Regions from separate parts of the Homo sapiens genome. Here region 2 is linked to region 1. Evidence: promoter capture Hi-C in 16 types of primary human blood cells and fetal thymus (Javierre and others, 2016). All regions are on one chromosome and are shown on one strand. Each heading gives the region's core, a stretch centred on a gene start or on the middle of the fragment in contact. The rest is flanking DNA. Distances are from core to core; before and after follow the strand shown. Region 1 holds the start of TNNC1 (troponin C1, slow skeletal and cardiac type). Region 2 overlaps PBRM1 (polybromo 1).

What was found. The method cuts DNA at HindIII sites, captures the fragments that hold promoters and counts their contacts. A CHiCAGO score of 5 or more calls a contact.
Region 2: a fragment that was not itself captured here is called in contact with the fragment with the promoter of TNNC1 in region 1 in 3 of 17 cell types (M0 macrophages, M2 macrophages and M1 macrophages); the score reaches 6.5 in M0 macrophages.

The regions. Positions count from the first base shown.
Region 1 is chr3:52,452,580-52,459,310 of GRCh38, reverse strand. TNNC1 (troponin C1, slow skeletal and cardiac type) reads left to right here and starts at 5,270. Exons shown (of 6, transcript NM_003280.3): 1 at 5,270-5,319. The coding sequence starts at 5,296. It overlaps NISCH (nischarin), which reads right to left and starts at 3,707. Exons shown (of 21, transcript NM_007184.4): 1 at 3,577-3,707; 2 at 1,385-1,468; 3 at 467-649. The coding sequence starts at 3,669. RefSeq lists enhancers at 2,053-2,728, 6,408-6,731 and a silencer at 3,553-3,782. The HindIII fragment of the contact is 13,067 bases long and covers 723-6,731 here.
Region 2 is chr3:52,548,641-52,555,171 of GRCh38, reverse strand. It overlaps PBRM1 (polybromo 1), which reads left to right. Exons shown (of 32, transcript NM_001405607.1): 29 at 293-448; 30 at 4,355-4,425; 31 at 4,535-4,751. It also overlaps the pseudogene RNU6-856P. Among named protein-coding and RNA genes, the nearest start is that of UQCC5, 15 kb to the right of the region's middle. The HindIII fragment of the contact is 1,397 bases long and covers 1,754-3,150 here.

The DNA of each region.
Region 1 (6,731 bases), core at 4,021-6,520:
ACAGGAAGGTGTCCACCCTCAACCTTAGCACCCTGGCAGCGCGGACCCTGATGACACGCCCCAAGATGGTGATATTCCACCATCACAGACTAATCCCTTAATTAGTTTTGGGCTATGCACCAACAACTCAACAATAGTCTATCCCAGGTGTCAGCTATTTCTAATCCAGCCTCATCCATCTGGATGGAAACCTAGCTTAAACACCCACAGGCCATTTTTGCTAAACAAAATGCCTTGTGGTGGAGGAAAGCATCTCTGTGGCCACATTTAGTCTAATTTACGGCAAATCTGTCAACTAACATGCTTCTGGCCACAATGCATTCCTAACCAGGGTGACGTTCCTCCATCTTCTAACCTAGGGTCAAACCCCAGCCCACCTCAAAGCTGAGGTCTCCCCTGGTTTGCTGCCTCAAGTTTGGCAGTTGTGGGTTTGCAGGCACAGGTGAAAACCCGATGAGGAACTTACATAGAAGTGAAAATGCAAGAAGTGGGCCAGTACTCTGGGGGTCACGCCAGGGAAGGCAGCCAGGAGCTTCTGGAGGTAGACCTCCAGATCCTTCTCCCTCTTCTCCACCAAGCTTCTTGAGTTTTTCCCAATTATCTTTTTGGGCGGAAGCAGATTTTTATCAATCTTTCTCTCTGCAACGAGCTGTAAAAAAACATAAGCACATCAACCACAGACTAAGAGGCTCTGTGCCTATGTAAGACCAAGGCAAGAAGCTTGAGGGCAGGCGCTTGTCAGCACTTGCACAGCCCCTCCCTGCAGTAGTACCAAAATCAGTGACCAAACTAGTGCACCTGGGATTTGGCCTCTTTAAATCCAATTAGCATTAGAAATACCAATACAATTCTAGACAAGGAATTCCATCTGGAGACTTTAGAGACATTCAGAAAAGTAACACCTTTTGCCCCTAAAATTGCCATCTTTTCCAAGCCAGAGTAAAAACCAATCAGGGCAGCGGTGTGTCTTTAAAACAGTTATGCTGCAAATGACCCAGAGAAAGACAGCATCTCCAAAAGCAAAAAAAAGAGATGGAATCACAGCCAGATATTAAAGTAAGGCTTTGGAATAGCTATCGCTAGATCAAACAAGTTCAAACCTGTCCCCTTCCCAGGAAACTGTCTGAGCATCTCATACCCAAGCTAGGACTGGAAATATTAAAACTGAAATTCAAATATGCTCCTTGCAGAGTGGCTCATGCTAGAGCTGAAGGCTAGCATTTACATGCTATATTAATGAACGCAGTTATATTAACAAAGTGGTTTATTAAAGAACTATAGAGATGGAACCTGTTTTGCCCTAAAACTAATATGTGGCACAATGGAAAGTTGGCCTACGGGTCCCCCAGCCCTGAGATACGTGCTCCCAGCTCTTAACAGTTACCTTTTCATGCAGGTCATGGAAGTCGCTGTAGCGGTGCTTTACTGTCCACTCATGGCTGCCATCAGTGACCTGGATGATGTAAACCTAAAAGGGGAAACCAACAGCCCTTGTGGCAAGGGAGCCCAGCAACAAGGAGTCTCCTCCCCCAGCAGCAAAAGCTGCAATTATCTTTCCCAATTATCTTTTATCAGTCTTTCTCTCTGCAACTCAGACCCACCCCAAGGCCAAAGTCAGGCTGCCCTTGCCCACCAGCCTCTGCACCTGACCCTTGCTGACCAGCAGGGCCCCTCTCAGCTTCCTCCATGGCCCAAGCACTAGGGCTGGGAGGCACATGAGACAAGCATGTGGCTCCATCCATCAGTAAGGAATGAAAAAGGTGATTACCACAAGTCACCTCTTTAGTTTTTTACCTCCTGCCTCTAGGTAACTCAAAACCCAACCGGAGCTGCAGGCAAGGCCATTTCTTCCAAGGGAGGCAGAGCAGGGCCAGTTCTAGCCTGAGCATCTTCTCTGTTGTACTTCTTTCCAGGTGCCCTGACTACCTCCTGGAAGCAAGTCATTTTCCAACCCTTTCAACTGGTTCATGGCTGTGATTTCTGCTGCTGAGCCAGGAATCAAGGCACAAGCAGCTGATGTGGGGAGGGAGTGGTAGCAACTAAGCTCTATCAGGAGGCAATATGGCCTAGAGGTTAAGGAAGGCCTGGGTTAAAAACCTGGTTCTGCCATTTCCTGGCTGCAGCTTATGTGTCACTTATATAAGTAACTTGGAGCCTAAGTTCTCTCTGAGCCTTAGTTCCTCCATCTTAGAATCAAGGACCAAGTAAGGCAATGCATGTAAAATGCTTTGTACATGGGCCTGACCCATGGCAAGTGTTCAAAAGGTAGGTGTGTTAATAATGTCCAACTCGGCACACCCGGAGACAGAGGATGGTAGGGTCCAAACTAGATCACCACCTCCCCCGACATACATGCAGAGGAGGGGCGCAGTCCAGAATAGGGTGAGCTTTTTGAAGATGGCCCTCTGGCTGAATGTGCCCATAGCTGATGGCCAGTCAGCCATCAGCTTAGAGACCTCACCCGCCTCCTGCACCTAGTTTCCCCCTCCTCTCTGCAGCATGGAGCTGAAGCCTCCTCCAGCCCTGAGGAGCAGCCATTTCTCCAGGCTGGCCTGTTGCTTCAAGATCCACCCCTCTCCTCTTCCCATCCTGCCTGATTCCTTCCCCTTGCCTTCAGGAAAGGAGAAAAGAGCCAGAAGAATGGCCCTCAGAGCGGAAGGTTAGGATGAGGGCCAGGGAGGGGAGGTGCAGGCAGGCCCAAGGCCCCCACCCACTCCCTACCCTGCGGGAACAAAGGGGAGGAGGCAGGGAGGTGCTCTATGCCTAGTCCAGGGCCGGTTTTTGCCAGGCAGCCCACCAGGCTCACAGGCCTGGCATCCAACCCCGTCAAAGTCGGGAACTACCCGCTATTTGTCCTCTGTCTCCCCCATAGCTTAGAAGTGTGTGTGGGCAGCTTGTTGCCCCATCTCGCTCCCACAGCCCAAAGTCACGAAGATTCCTAAGGCTTATAGGGCCTGCGCTTTAGCACTGAGACCACCCCCATTTCTCCATAGATGGGCTCCACCCCTCCTCCGGTCTTGTCTCCGCCCGACCCCCAAGGCATCTGCTCCCCAGGTCTCTCCTGCACTTCTCAGAGAAAATCTCAACCACCACCTCAGGCTCCCCAGATCAGGGTCCTGACGCCTTCTCTTTCTTCAAGGCCTGCGAAGCCTGACCCTTTTCCCTGATTCCATCCATCAGAGACCCTCTCCCCATCGCCTTCCTCCTGGACCCCTGTAACGGTCTTCCAGGCCGGGGCCCCTCCAGTCCTAGAGGATCTAGAGGGGTTCCGCCTCATCTAGACACCCCCCTCCCCAAGCCCCCTTTATCCCCAGATGCCGCCCCCAACCCGAGCCTCCCTTTCTGATCGCGTACCCTTTTCCAAACCGCCTCCCCGGGCCCCGAGCAACCCTTCTCCCGGACCTGCGGGGCCCAGATCCCTTTCCTAGATCCCCCGTCCCAGCCCCCTCCTCGCAATCGCAGACCCTTCTACCCGCTCCTCGGGGCTGCAGATCCCGGACCCCTCCCCAAGCCCCCGAGTCGGACTCCCGGTTCCAGCCACCACCCCCGCTTCGGGTGCCCGCGCCCCCAACACACCGTATAAGTGTCCACAAGCTCCGAGCCCACGACGCGCGCTTCCTTGGCCGGCTCGGCTTCCCGCTCGGGCCCGAAGGTGCGCGCGGTCGCCATGTTCGGGTCTCCGCCGCCACCGCCGCCCGGCGCAGACTAGCAGCAGCAGGGGGCGGGGTCAACGTCCCACCGCCCCCCGGCCCCCGCCGCCCGTCGCCCCCGCCGCGCGCTGCGCCGCCATCTTGGCCCCGCCTTCTTCCTGCGCCCTCGCCCCGCCCCCGCGCGTGACTGACAGGGGCCACTCAGGGCGCGCGTGCGAGGTGCTCGCTTGCGTAATCTACCTGCGTGGCGCCGCCGGCGGTACCCTGCACAGCCTGCTAGAAACTGAGACCCCGGGTGGTGACAGCTCTGGGCATCGCCCCTGGGTCCTCGGGAAGAGGGGACAGAAGGTCCCGAGTCTCCCAGGCCACACGAAGCAAGTCACTGCTCTTCCTGGCCTCAGTTTACTCCTCCTGATAAAGGAGGCCATAATAGTGCCTCACCTGGCTGTTGGGCTCTTTCTCTTTAGGGCAAGGCAGGTTGGAGGGGAAAATAGGACCTGTGCTTACCGCCGGAGCAGGGCGAGAGTGATTCTGGGCCAGTTCTGAACCTCTCTGAGATTCGGAGATCTCTTGTCAGTGGGGCTTCTGGACAACTGAGTGGGTTGATTGATGCGCGGCCCAGCACGCAGTAGTGCTCGAGGCAGGGAGCGTGTTTATCAAGAGGGATAAACTTGATACGAACTCTGTACGAAGGAAGGTGTAGGTGGATGGAGGGGTGTGTGCTGCCACTGAGCACAAGAACCCCACGGGGTGGCCTGCCAAAGTTCAAAACGAGGGAGACAGGTTGATCTGGACCCAGGAACTACAGTGCTGAATCCTAAACCGGGGAAAGATGAGACCTAGAAGAGGGAGGTGGTAACCTAATTGGAGGGTGAGGAGGGAAAGAGCCTGCCACAGATGGGGCATCTATAGGGGTGCTGTTGAATAACTGAGAGCAGCTGACTTAAGCCCGAAGTGGGTACTTCTCCCTGGGCAGATGGGAGGTCTGGGACAGGCTCCTCTGGCAGAAGGGCTCCTGGCCACCCTGTCCTAAGGTGGGTCAGTCACTTCCTCCTTCACCAGTTCCACAGCATCTTACTATGAGCTTGGCATTCGAGGCTTCTCTTGGCAGGGCCCTGCACTCCTAGCCTCTCCTTGCACATTGCACCCCCATTCCAGAGAGGTTTAGTTAAAGGCGGGGGTTACCAAGTCAGTCAGATCTTGGGCAAGTCACCACTCCTCCAGAGCCTCAGTTTCCTTATCTGGAAAGTGGAGGTCATGGCAACCCGCCAACCTGGTTGGATGGGAGCCTGAGCTGTTGTGTTGCACCTTGCCTGGGGCCCACGACTTTGTAGCTCCTGTCCTGCACTGGGCTTATGTTTTCATTCATTCCAGAAACCTTTTCAGAGAGTCCCTTTGGGGAGTGTGGGGGACAGGAGGGAAAGAAACCTGGTCCTTGTAGCCGTTCGTCTGCTCCCTGCCCTGGGCAGAGGACGTGGGGACTCAGGCCAGCCTGAGATCACTGGGACCAGAGGAGGGGCTGGAGGATACTACACGCAGGGGTGGGCTGGGCTGGGCTGGGCTGGGCCAGGAATGCAGCGGGGCAGGGCTATTTAAGTCAAGGGCCGGCTGGCAACCCCAGCAAGCTGTCCTGTGAGCCGCCAGCATGGATGACATCTACAAGGCTGCGGTGAGGGACAGGGCTGGGTAGGGCTGGGGTGGGCAGGCCCACTGGGGGCTCACTCAGCTGAGAGTGCGGGGTTAGTAGCCCCAGGGAAGTGGTGGGGACCAAGGAGAAGGCCTACGTGCCTTCAACCCAGGCCCTCACAGGGACAGTGATTCTGGTGTTTGAGGATGCAGAAGGGGTAGGGGGTTCCGGGTCTGAAGGGTGGTGGAGGAGGTTGCAGCTTTCAGCATCGTGTCTCACTCTCTGTTTCCAAGTGTCTGTGGTCTGTGGCACTGTCGCTCAGCCACATGTCTCTGCATTTGTCTCTGGACGTTTTTGCCTTTCTCTTTTCATCTCTTCCTCCTGAGCTGTCTGAGTCCCCATTACTGTCTCCCTGTCCCCAACCCCCATTTCTGCCCCTCACATTCTGCTTCTCACATGCTCAAAATCTGCCACCCCACTCCAGCCCCTTGGCGGGCCGAAGATGCTTTGGAGGGTGGAGGGTGTGAGAGGAGGGGTCTGTAGAGCCTGAGTCCTGGGCTGGAGATGGGGCTTTGAAGTTTGAGGCAGGGAAGTTCTGGACATGAGGGAGAACCAAGGAAGAAGGAACAGAGAACTGGGGCCCCAGCTCCCATCATGCCTGGCAGGCTCAGGGCTCAGTGGCTTAGCTAGGGGTGAGAGCGAGGGAATGAGGGCTGGAGAGTGGTCACCCCAAGCCCCTGCAACCTCCTGGGTCACTGAGGGTCTTCAGATGCTATTCTATCCTGGGTGGTGGTGACCTCCCCCAACCCCAGAGCAAGGACATCCTGGCATGGCCAGCTGTCCCCAGGGGAACCCCTCCCTCAGCCTCCCTCACTCCTGGGCAGGGAAGTGCTATAGCCAGCTCTGGGGGCACGCCTGCTTATCCTGTGGGAGTCCATGGAGCCGGGGTTGGGACAGCCCTCCACCCAGTGCCCATACAAGGCCTGGCGGAGTTGGGGACTAATTTTGGCTTCTGAGGCGGCACTAGCAGGCCAGGGGGCCAGATAACGCTGCCCCACCCCCTGCATGCCAAAGTCCCCAGAACAATCACCAGGTTTAACTTTGTTCCTCGTTAAAAATAGCCCAGTGGCCACCCTGGTCAGGTTACCGTGGGTGGCTTGCCTGCCTCCACACTGGTTTTATTATCCCAACTTGAGGGACAGCTGTCCTTCGGGCCACCCAGCTTGAGTTTCATCAGGGGCCGAAAGGGCATTGAGTGGTCACTGACTATTGTTACTGAGGGTCACCTTGGTCCTGAAGGGGGTGCCCACCTGTCACCCTGGCCCTGAGCCCAGTCGCAGTGAGGCCAGCTGGGTCACGTCAGGGCTTTGGGGGCAGGGAGGGAGGACTGAGACCTCCACTCTGTGGCCTGGAAATAGCCTGCCTCCTCCAGCTCCAGCCTTCTCACCTGTGGA
Region 2 (6,531 bases), core at 1,203-3,702, 99 kb before region 1:
ACTAGAACTCTTTACTATTATTTAACTGAAAACATGCAGCATATTTACCCCAGGGAAAATAACTACAAATAATAGTGTACTAAGTACTAATTCATCCCAAAATGTTGGGTCTCATATTTGTAACTTTTTATTTTGTTCATTATTGCAGCAAAATAATTGCACTAATTGCTGTTATATCATGCAGTACTAAGGGTGCTTTATTCATTGGTAGTGCATGTGGGGGTTGGTTGTTATTACTTAGCTCATGTTGCATGTTAATGATGCATGTCTGAAATTTGTTGTGTCCTTCAAGGCATGATGGGTGGCTATCCGCCAGGCCTTCCACCTTTGCAGGGCCCAGTTGATGGCCTTGTTAGCATGGGCAGCATGCAGCCACTTCACCCTGGGGGGCCTCCACCCCACCATCTTCCGCCAGGTGTGCCTGGCCTCCCGGGCATCCCACCACCGGGTAAGAACTTCATCCTCATTCACTCATTAATCTCATCTTCATATTCTCTTTTTCCGCTTTCAACCAGTTGTTCCAGGAGGCACCCGTGGCCCATTGTGGCCAGGCCTTCCCTCCCTGAGAATCCAAAGGTTGTCAGCAGCAGGGCATGTCTTGTGCATTCAGCAGGTGGCCCAGCACTTGTGCCCTTGTGCACCTGGCTGCTGGCAGCAGCACAGCACACATGGCAGAGGCCAGACTCAGCAAACCAAGGGACAAGAGGCATACTCTATCGATAATCACTCAACTAATTTGACATGTCCTTGAAAAGCCAGACAGCCTAGAAGGCTGTGTCCTCTTATCAGTGAATGAAGTTTCCCAAATTGCTAGTTCAGAGTAACATGTAAAAGCATTTTTTGCCCCTGAGTTGCATTTCTCCCTCTGGTGCAATTCTTATCTCACAGGGTATAGAGTATCTGTTCCATCTCCTACTTCTCCTCAAGCAGCCTTTCTAAGGGGATTGCAGAGCTGCTAAGGTAGAACTCTTCAGAAATCTTTCACTCAGTCTGTCTTAGAACAAAAAGCAGGGAGGGAATGCATTTTCACTGAATTAGTGTTCTGTATGTGAGTTCCCTAAGAAGCATGACATGCCAGGTGTAATGGCTCATGCCTGTAATCCCAGCACTTTCAGAGAATGAGGAAGGTGGATCACTTGAGCCCAGGAGTTCAAGACCAGCCTGGGCAACCTGGTGAGACCCCATCTCTATAAAAATTAGCCAGGTGTTAGGCCGGGCACGATGGCTCATGCCTGTAATCCCAGCACTTTGGGAGGCCGAGGTGGGCGGATCACTTGAGGTCAGGAGTTCGAGACCAGCCTGGCCAATATGGTGAAACACCGTCTTTACTAAAAATACAAAAATTAGCTGGGCGTGGTGGCGGGCACCTGTAGTCCCAGCTACTCGAGAGGCTGAGGCAGAAGAATCACTTGAACCTGGGAGGCAGAGGTTGCAGTGAGCCGAGATTGCACCACTACACTCCAGCCTGGGCGACAGCAAGACTCCGTGTCAAAAAAAAAAAAAAAAAAGGAAAAATTAGCCAGGTGTGGTGGCATGTGCCTGTAGTCCCAGCTACTCAGGAGGCTGAGGTGGGAGAATTACCTGAGCCTGGGGAGACTGAGGCTGCAGTGAGTGGTGATCGCACCACTGCACTCCAGCCTGAGCGACAGAATGAGATCCTGTCTCAAAAAAAAAAAAAAAAAAGCCTGACATTAAAGAACAGCCTAGCCTACCCTCCTAGCTGTAGATACTGGTTTGTCTGTCAACAGAAGCTTAGAAGTTCTTTTATATAGAAATATATAAATGGATTCCAGAAATAGCGACATTCATTTTCACTTTAAAATGTGAATTAGCAAGTTGAAAGATTATTTTAAAGAAAACCTAAATGAAAGGAAAATCACATGTTCCCATATTAATTGCCATCATATGCAAAAGAACTCTTAGCTGTAATCTGGATGGAGGGAATGTGACCTTTGGAAGACTCGGAAAGCATTTGGTCCATTACCTACAACATCAGCTAAGGGCCCAACCCAAATGGTAAAATGTGGTTGGAAACTTGTTAAATTTGCTTGTACCAGTGTTGGACCTACCAGTGATAGGGTTTTGCAGGGTACCAAATGATGCTTTGGAGGGTGCACCCAGCAGTGTGCAGAGTGAGCAAACTTGGTGGCCTGGCCTGGAGCCTCCAGCCACACTCTTTGTGAGAGTTGCTTAGAATATGGCCATAATTCCACAGAAGCATTTGCTCCAGGTATTGCCAGAGGAGGAAGTGTTTGTAGGGTTAGGTGCTTCATATGAAAACAGTGGACTGTGTGAATTGCTGTTGCAGCAGGAGTCAGTCATAAGGTAAATGTTCCCATGTGGCAGGTAGACTTGGCCTTAATTTTTTGCCCTCTCACCTTGATACAGGGTATCACTGAGCCAATAAGACCAGGCTGGAGTTTACACCTTCTAGGTGCACTTAGTGGGATCCATGTCTAATGCCAGTACCCTCTAGGTTGCAGATGTCTTTTGGTGGGTGTTGGGACATAGCTGTCTTCCTTTCCACCTTCCTGAAATCCTAAATTCAACTGGAGGGAAGCCCAACACACCTGCTTAGAATTGAGGAGACAGGGCCGGACACAGTGACTCAATCCTGTAATCCCAGCACTTTGTGAGGCTGAGGTGGGAGGATTGCTTTGAGCTCAGCAGTTCAAGACCAGTGGGCAACATGGTGAAACCCCATATCTATTTTATTTAATTAAAAAAGAAGCCAGGAGTCAGGGAAGACCCCCTCTTAGTGCCTACAAATGCACATGTCTGAGCAGGCTTAGAGGAGTAGGGGATTCATTGAGCTCTTTTGGTGACTCAGCTCAGATTCTCACCGGCTGCCCAAGTATGGCATTTGTCAATAGAGGAAGCAGAAGAGTTTGCTGATTTGTGCTGCCCTGCAAAGCAATGATTTACACAGTTTAGGGAGCCACACCGTGTTCTGGAATCTAAGGTGGGTGAGTGTCCCAGGGCACAGGGAGGTGATGGGCACAGAGGTTAATAATATATTGCTGGGGCACCAGCTTACCCACCACAACCTCTTCATTCATTCACGAATAATCATCAGGATCCTACTTTGGTGATCCGGGTGGACTTCTGGGTACTTGGAATATAAAACTCCCTGCTTTTTAAACAGAAGCTTTTTTACTTGTTATTTTCTAACAAATAAGAGGCTCTCTTATGCTTCCTGGAAGTGGCATTTAACAATTCTGAACCTTAGTGCTCGCTTCAGCAGCACATACACTAAAATTGGAACAATATGGAGTTGAGCATGGCACAAGGATGACATGCAAATTCATGAAACAGTTCTGAACTTTAGAATGAGGAGCTGCTTCTGCCTGGACAAAATATTACGATTTTTAATCCGAAGGGACTATACACTATGAAGTTATACCTCCTCTCGATTCTTCTACACAGCCAGCAGGATTTGTTTAAGTTTTCAAGAACAGTTCACCACAGTTTTAGGTTTATTTGATTTTAATGAACTGGGTCCCTTGCCTATTTCTGTATTTTATCAGAATAGCAAATATGCACCCTGAAATCAAAAGAGCCTCTGACACTAAATTTAGGACATCTCATTATTATCAGCTGTGCCTGTGAGACAACAATTGCTCGTGAGCATTCACTGAGGGAAGCTTACAAAATTATTATCAGGGACATAGTACAAATCTAGTAGGGCCATGAAGTCTCTCTGTTCCTTTGTCATTTTGCATATAAAGCAATAGCAACAAGGTTACTTCACTTCAGATGATTCCTTTTCAGAGTGCTACTCTATCAGATGGAAGTGTTCTCTCCCTGCCAGCACTAGTGACTCCAGTTAGAACCAGCTGCTGATGGTCTGGGAGGGGATAGCAAGGCTGTGCCTTCAGCCTTCACAAAGCTCATTTAACTATGCACTTCCACAGCCTCTTCCCTTGTGTCCCTGCTGTCCTAGCACATTGCTTACTGCTGAGCCTGATTCCAGTGCCATTCCTGCTTAAATTAAATACAGGCTTCAGTTGCAGGAGAATGTGTTGTCAGAAGAAAAACACCTTGAATGTAGAGGTATATTCTGACAATAGCTTACCTAGAGAAATACTAGAATTTTATGCAAGGTTCAAATCATTTCTAAGCCATAATTGATGTACATCTGACAGATTGTTCTAGTATTATACTTTAAGTACCTAGAAACAAAACAACTTTCTATTCAAATCCTATTGGGGTGCTTAAGATTCCTAGCCACAAAGATTCAAGGGCAGAGGTACATAGGTTTGAATTATGAATGGCATCATTTCTTATCAGACAGTAGTTTTTCAGTCATTTCAACCCAGAGCCTCTAACTGTGCCATTGCATTCTGAATTATAGGTGTGATGAACCAAGGAGTGGCCCCTATGGTAGGGACTCCAGCACCAGGTGGAAGTCCATATGGACAACAGGTGAGCCTCCCAGTTTGATTTTCTAGGACTTGACAGAATTCGAGTTATCCTTCTCAGAACATGTGCAGAGTCTCTTTTTGCCTCACCATGTGGTCCTGTGCTCTTTCAGGTGGGAGTTTTGGGGCCTCCAGGGCAGCAGGCACCACCTCCATATCCCGGCCCACATCCAGCTGGACCCCCTGTCATACAGCAGCCAACAACACCCATGTTTGTAGCTCCCCCACCAAAGACCCAGCGGCTTCTTCACTCAGAGGCCTACCTGAAATACATTGAAGGACTCAGTGCGGAGTCCAACAGCATTAGCAAGTGGGATCAGACACTGGCAGGTAAGATTCCTTCTAAATAAGCCTTTGTGAAATACATGCTTCCTCAAAGCTGTCTTACTGCTGTTAGCATAGTATATCATACAATAAACACCCCTTTTTCTTATACAATTAAAATAAATTATATATTTCATAAATGGTTTGGAGTTTCTTTGCATGTTTACGTAACACACTGAAAATGGTTTGTTTTGTTTTGTTTTGTTTTTGAGACAGGGTCTCACTCTGTTGCCTAGGCTGGAGTGCAGTGGCGCGATCTTGGCTCACTGCAGTCTCCGCCTTCCAGGTTCAACTGATTCTTCTGCCTCAGCCTCCCCAGTAGCTGGGATTACAGGCACATGCCACCACACCTGGCTAATGTTTATATTTTTAGTAGAGATGGGGTTTCACCATATCAGCCAGGCTGGTCTCAAACTCTTGACCTCAAGTGATCCACCTGCCTCGGCCTCTCAAAGTGCTGGGATTACAGGCGTGAGCCACTGTGCCTGGCCTGAAAATGGTTTTTGGGTTGTTTTTTTTTTTTTGAGACAGTCTCACTCTGTCGCCCAGGCTGGAGTGCAGTGGTACAATCTCGACTTACTGCAACCTCCGACCCCCAGGTTCAAGCGATTCTTGTGTCTTAGCCTCCTGAGCAGCTGGAATTACAGGTGCTCAGCACCACGCCCAGCTAATTTTTTTATCTTTAGTAGAGATGGGGTTTCGCCGTTTTGGCCAGGCTGGTCTCGAACTCCTGACCTCAGGTGATCTATTCACCTCAGCCTCCCAAAGAGCTGGGATTATAGGCATGAGTCACAGCGCCCTGCCTAAAAGTGTTGTTGTGGTTTTTTTTGCCAAATTTCAAAGCCTAGTTTTCTCATAAACATCACTGCCATCTTTTTAAGTACATTGTTTTTTGTTTGTTGTTTTGTTTTGTTTTGTTTTGTTTTTCAGGCATTTGGACATTAGTATAGATGCATTGGGTAAATTAAAAATTATTGGCCAGGCACGGTGGCTCCCACTTTGGGAGGCTGAAGTGGACAGATCGATTGAGTTCAGGAGTTTGAGACCAGCCTGGACAACATGGCAAAACCCCGTCTCTACAAAAAAATTAAAAATTAGCCAGATGAGGGCCAGGAGCGGTGGCTCACGCCTGTAATCCCAGCACTTTGGGAGGCTGAAGCGGGCAGATCACTTGAGGTCAGGAGATCAAGACCATCCTGGCCAACATGGTGAAATCCCATCTCTACTAAAAATACAAAAATTAGCTGGGCGTGGTGTCTGGTGTCTGTAATCCCAGCTACTTGGGAGGCTGAGGCACGAGAATCATTTGAACCCGGAGGTGGAGGTTGCAGTGAGCCAAGATCGCACCACTGCACTCCAGCCTGGGTGACAGAATAAGACTCTGTCTAAAAAAAAAAAAAAAACTATTTTACCTCAGTTTAACAAAAGGAAAAAAATATTAGAAACCGATTAGGCTATTCATTTAGTTCAACATACTTATGTATTTTCAGTATGTACTAAAGTACTTGTGTAGTTTCTGGAGAGAAGTTTGGAAGTTTCTACTTGTTCTTGATTTCTAAACCAACTTTGGTCATCTCATTTCATTTCTTTAGAGTAGAAGGTATATTTTCCCTTTCTTCACATGTTTACCTTTTTAGGAATTTTTGTTAACATTGAAGTAATTATTAAATATCAGGGATGCCTACAAAAAAATAATGATCAGGCCGGGTGCAGTGGCTCACACCTGTAATCCCAGCACTTTGGGAGGCCAAGGTAGGCAGATCACCTGAGGTCAGGAGTTCAAGAC